Linked DNA regions of Homo sapiens: region 1 is linked to region 2. Evidence: promoter capture Hi-C in human tissues and cell types (Jung and others, 2019). All regions are on one chromosome and are shown on one strand. The core of a region is centred on a gene start or on the middle of the fragment in contact, and the rest is flanking DNA. Distances in the headings are between cores, read along the strand shown.

Region 1 (2,913 bases), core at 166-2,665, 510 kb after region 2:
TTCTACTGCCCCACAATGGGCTGCCGAGGGCATCTCCTAAGGGACTTGGCCTAAGAGAGAAGAGCAGCAGCCGAGATGCTATGGCCTGTCCCAGCAGCAACCTCTGAAAACACCTGGGACCTGGCTGGCAGGCAGCAGTATAAGAACTAGAATTTATTTTAGCAAACCAAAGAGAACAAAACATCCAGGAGCCACATTGGTGGGCCCACAGCAGACCCAGCAGCAAATGCCGAGAAAAGTGGTGGTTGGAGAAGGAGCACCTGTGCTGGTTCGTGGGCCCACAGCTGCACTTGGGAACAGTCCAGGCTGTGCCTACAGAGGTGCTCCAAGCTGACCCTAAGGTGGGCCTCATGCCACAAATCCTGCTTGCTTCAAATAGGGCACCCTCGGTGCTGCCTCCTCTGAGGCTGGCAGCTCCTTCCTGGATGTGCAGGGGCAAGAGCAGAGTGGAGAGCAGAGAGAGTGCCGCCTCACACATACTCCCCACAGTTGCCAATGATCACCTTCTGCCTTGGCTTCCCATCCTTGCCTTTGCAGACAGAATAGAAGAGGGGACACTCAGGGGAGTGAAGGAGCAGAATAAAGACAGACTTTAGGGACATCCACCCCTACCTGCCCCCTGGGGACACTGGCCCTAACAGTGGTGGAGCTCACAATCTAGTGAAATACAGCCACCCAAAAAAGATGTGGATTCATCTCAGGAATGCAAAGTTGGTTTAACATCTAAAAATCAATCAATGTAATAGACAATTATCAATAGTATAAAGAACAAAAACCACATAATCATCTCAGATACAGAAAAAGCAGTAGACAAAATCCAACACCTTTTCATAATGAAAACTCAATAAACTAGGAGTGGAAGGGGGAACTTTCTCAATCTGATAAAAGGTATCAACAGAAAACTACATGTGAAAGACAAGATGCTTTCCCCCTAAGGTCAGGAACAAGACGAGGATATCTGCCCTTGACACTTCTATTCAACATTGTACTGAAGGTTCTAGCCAGGGTAATTAGGTGAAAAAAATGAAATGAAAGGCATCCAATCGGCAAGGAAAATGTAAAGCTATTTCTATTTGCAGATGACACACTCTTGCATATAGAAAATCCTAAAAAATCCACAAAAAAAACTATTAGAACTAATAAACAGGCCGGGCATGGTGGCTCACGCCTGTAACCCCAGCACTTTGGGAGGCCAAGGTGCGCGGATCACAAGGTCAGGAAATTGAGACCATCCTGGCTAACACGGTGAAACCCCATCTCTACTAAAAATACAAAAAATTAGCCAGGCGTGGTGGCGGGCGCCTGTAGTCCCAGCTACTCAGGAGGCTGAGGCAGGAAAATGGCGTGAACCTGGGAGGTGGAGGTTGCAGTGAGCTGAGATCGTGCCACCGCACTCCAGCCTGGGCGACAGAGTGAGACTCCATCTCAAAAAAAGAAAAAAAAAAGAACTATTAAACAAGTTTAGCAATGTTGCAGAATACAAAATCAATATACAATTGATTATATATATTTTTGTAGAGATGAGGTCTCATTATGTTGACTCGGGCTGGTCTCAGACTCCTGGACTCAAGTGATTTTCCCACTTCAGTCTCCCAACGTGCTGGGATTATGAGTGTGAACCACCATGCCTGGCCTGTTTTGTGGTTTTCAAAGTATAAGCTGTATACATCTTTTAAACTTATTCCTAAATATTTTATTCTTTTTTATGCTATTGTAAGTATAATTGTTTTTCTTTTTATTCTGTTTTCAGGTTGTTCATTGCTGATGTATAGAAATATAATTGCTATATCTACGGCCAGGCACGGTGGCTCACACCCGTAATCCCAACACTTTGGGAGGCCGAGGCGGGCAGATCACAAGGTCAGGAGATCGAGACCATCCTGGCTAACATGGTGAAACCCTATCTCTACTAAAAATACAAAAAATTAGCTCGGCGTGGTGGCGGGCGCCTGTAGTCCCAGCTACTCAGGAGGCTGAGGCAGGAGAATGGCGTGGACCCGGGAGGTGGAGCTTGCAGTGAGCTGAGATGCTGCCACTGCACTCCAGCCTGGGCGACATAGCAAGACTCTGTCTCAAAAATAAGAAAAGAAATATAATTGCTATATATATATGTGTGTGTATTTTTTTTAGAAGAGTCTTGCTCTGTTGTCCAGGCTGGAGTGCAATGGTGCAGTCACAGCTGTCTACAAAAATATTTTTTAAAATTAGCCAGGTGTGGTGGTGTGTGCCTATAGTTCCAACTAGTTGTAAAGCTGAAACATAAGGACCACTTGGGTACAGGAGTTCCAAGACTGTGGTGAGCTGTGATTGCACCACTGCACTCCAGCCTGGGCAATACAGTGAGACCCTGTCTAAAAAAAAAAAAAAAAGAATGAGAGAAACTATTTGCAAATTATACATCTGATAAGAGACCTGTATCTAAAATATTTAAAGAATTCTGACTCGCTAGGCATGGTGGCTTACATCTATAATCCCAGCATTTTGGGAGGACAAGGTGGCAGGATTGCTTGAGCCCTGGAGTTCGAGACCAGCCTAGATAACATAGCAAGACCCCATCCCAATTAAAAAAAAAAAAAAAAGAAAACCAAAGAACATTACTGAAAAACACTGAAGAAGACCTAAACAAATGAAAAGATATCCTGTGTTCATGGATCAGAAGACTTAATATTGTTAAGATGATGATACTCCTAAATTCTTCACATTCAGTGCAATCTGTATTAAAATCCTAGCTGGCTTTTTTCATACGAGTTGATAAGCTTATCCCAAAATTCTTAAGAAATGTAAGAGACTCAGGATAACCAAAACAATCTTGAAAGGAAAAACAAAGTTGGAGGACTCGCATTTCCAGAATTAAAAATTTACTACAAAGCTATGGAATTTAAGACACAGTAGTAATGGCCTAATAACAGACAT
Region 2 (2,955 bases), core at 202-2,701:
TAATTATATATATATATATTTATATATATATATATATATATATATATATATATATATATATATATGTTCTAGTATTTTCCTCCCATACCTCCAATGTATAATATCTCATGCACCCTGTGGTCCACCCCCCAAAGACATACACACAACACTTTAGAGTCTCTGATGTAGTCAAAGGGAGTCATTGGAGGTTCTGGAACAGATGACAGGCATGGTAGCAGTTGATTCACAAACTGAAAGCTGAGACATCAAAGAACTGCGACTGCCTTGGAATGTTTCCCATGTGCTAGCCACCGCCTCAGTGCTTTATACATAAATCAGTTAATCCCTATAGCAAGCCTCCATTGTGAATACCATAATTATCTTAACAGACGAGGAGACTGAGGCACAATGAAGTTAAGAAACTTTCCTAGAGTCACACGAAATTGGTGGGGGCCTACTTTTTTTTTTTTTTTTTTTTTTTTTTTTTTTTTTTTTTGAGACTGAATCTAGCTCTGTCGCCAGGCTGGAGTCCAGTGGCGCGATCTCACCTCACTGCAACCTCCGCCTCCCGGATTCAAGCGATTCTCCTGCCTCGGCCTCCCCCCACTAGCTGGGATTACAGGCACTCGCTGCCACACCCAGCTAATTTTTGTATTTTTAGTAGAGACAGGGTTTCACCATATTGGCCAGGATGGTCTCGATCTCCTGAGCTTGTGATCCGCCCACCTCGGCCTCCCATAGTGCTGGGATTACAGGCCTGAGCCACTGCGCCCGGCTGGGGGCCTACATTTGACCCCACGTGGTGGTTTGGGCTCATAGTCCATGTGCTTAACCACTAGTGGGTAGGCAGGGAGCCAGTGTTCTTTCTCTCCTGTGACTTTGGTGAAGTCTCTCACCACTCAGTGTTGTCGTGAGCATGCTAGGCAGAGTGCAAGAAAGGAGCAAGAACTCACTAATGGCTAGGCCTTCCCTGTGTCTCTGTAATTGATGGGTTTGGGTTTTTTTTCCTTTCTCTCTCTCTACCTCCTCTCTCTCTTCTTCATCCTCTCTCTCTCACTCTCCCCCTGAGATAAGGTCTTGCTCTGTTGCCAGGGCTGGAATGCAATGGAATGGTGTGATCATGGCTCACTACAGCCTCAATCTCCTGGGCTCAAGGGATCCTCCCACCTCAACCTCCTGAGTAGCTGGAACCACAGGCATGCACCACCTCGCCCGGCTAATTTTTTATTTTTTGTAGAGAGGGGAGTTTCGCCATGTTGCCCAGGCTGTTTTCGAACTCCTGGGCTGAAGTGATCTTCCTCCCTCAGCCTTCCAAGGTGCTGGGATTGCAGACGTCAGCCACCGTACCAGGCCAACGGGCTCGGTTTCTATGGTTTTGTGGGGAGACGGCTGAGGGAAGGTCGGCTTCCGGCGTCGCGCTGCAAACGTCTCGCTGAGGTCATCCTTTACGGCAGGCGTCCGCGTCGCTAGCTAGTCGTTCTGAAGCGGCGGCCAGAGAAGAGTCAAGGGCACGAGCATCGGGTAGGTAGGGGCTGCTTATGTCCGCGCGGCAGCTTAGCTTAAGGACCTTCCTTCCGAGGTCTCTTTAACAGATTTCCTCTTGGCTTGCTGTGTGTCCCCTTCTCCCAGACCTGAACTCAGGGCGTGTTCCCTGCCCTCCCAGGCCGCTTCACCTCCACAGCTAATGGCACCGAAGCCTGGAGATTGCCGCTCTCTCCACTTTCCACATTTGTTTAGGTTTTTGCCGGACTAATGTTTTGGCTTTCTGTTTCTTAACCTAAAGTCTACGATCCTTATCCCAGCTTTCCAGGCTCTGCGTGATTTCGGCCCCGCCGGCCTCCTGAGCTCATTTCATTCTTTTCACCGTCATGCACGCTGCGCTCCATTGTCCCCCAAACATAGCCAGCACTTCCGGCTGTAACTCCGGGCTGTTGCCCAACTGGAACACTCTGCCCACTGATCTTCACTTGGCGAACTCGCAAGCCATGTTAAAGGCATTTTCAAGTCTCCGGGCAGAGTTCGTGCTTCCTCCTTCGAGCTCTTACCCACTCGTGTTCCTTGCAGTGTATTCGCAATTCCGAGTGTGTGTCTCTGGTGCTTACGTTGGAGCTGCTTTCCCCCGCATCTGAGTGCCTGGAACGTAACTACTCAGTAAATGATGACTGAGGGATGGGAAGGAACTTAAGAAGTTAAATTCACCTTTTTGTTGAGATGGAGTTTCGCTCTTGTTGCCCAGGCTGGAGTGCAGAGTGGCGCGATCTCGGCTCACTGCAGCCTCTGCCTCCCGGATTCAAGCGATTCTCCTCCCTGAGACTCCCGAGTAGCTGGGATTACAGGCATGCGCCCCCACGCCCGGCTAATTTTGTATTTTTTTAGTAGAGAGAGGGTTTCGCCATGTTGGTCAGGCTGGTCTTGAACTCGCGGCCTCAGGTGATCCGCCCGCCTCGGCCTCCCAAGGTGCTGGAATTACAGGCGTGAGCCACTGCGCCCAACTAAATTCACCTTTAAATCTACCATGAGTACACATTTATATTGATATTTGTGGGTGTGCGCGCGCTTCCTTTCAGTCATTTTAGGCAGTCAGGGTTTGTTTTTGTGTGTGTGTTTTTACATTTAACATTATTATGTATTTGCATGTAAATTTTTTTCCCTACTGTCTGTAATAGTCTACAAAGTAAGTCTTAACCCATTTCTTTCGCTCTGGTTTTTTTTTTTTTTTGAGACAGGATCTCGCTTTGTTGCCCAGGATGGAGTGCAGTGGCCAGGTCATAGCTCACTGAAGCCTTGAACTCCTGGCCTCAGTCTCCTGCCTCAGCCTTAGGAGTAGCTGGGACTACAGGCGCACATACCACCACAAGTGCCTTTTTTTTTTTTTTTTTTTTTTTTTGAGACAGAGAACCTGACCAAAGGATCCAAATTCTTTTTTTCTTCTTCTTCTTTTTTTTTTTTTTTTTTTTTTGAGACAGAGTCTCGCTC

Evidence for each region. The method cuts DNA at HindIII sites, captures the fragments that hold promoters and counts their contacts. A contact is called where the count stands out against the background at its distance.
Region 1: a fragment that was not itself captured here is called in contact with the fragment with the promoter of NDUFS5 in region 2 in 1 of the 25 tissues and cell types used here (aorta).

What each region holds. Positions count from the first base shown.
Region 1 is chr1:39,531,368-39,534,280 of GRCh38, forward strand. It overlaps the pseudogene PPIEL. Among named protein-coding and RNA genes, the nearest start is that of PABPC4-AS1, 32 kb to the right of the region's middle. The HindIII fragment of the contact is 7,857 bases long and covers 1-2,913 here.
Region 2 is chr1:39,024,899-39,027,853 of GRCh38, forward strand. It overlaps NDUFS5 (NADH:ubiquinone oxidoreductase subunit S5), which reads left to right and starts at 1,452. Exons shown (of 3, transcript NM_004552.3): 1 at 1,452-1,504. RefSeq lists enhancers at 1,284-1,533, 1,393-1,979, 1,980-2,565. The HindIII fragment of the contact is 8,915 bases long and covers 1-2,955 here.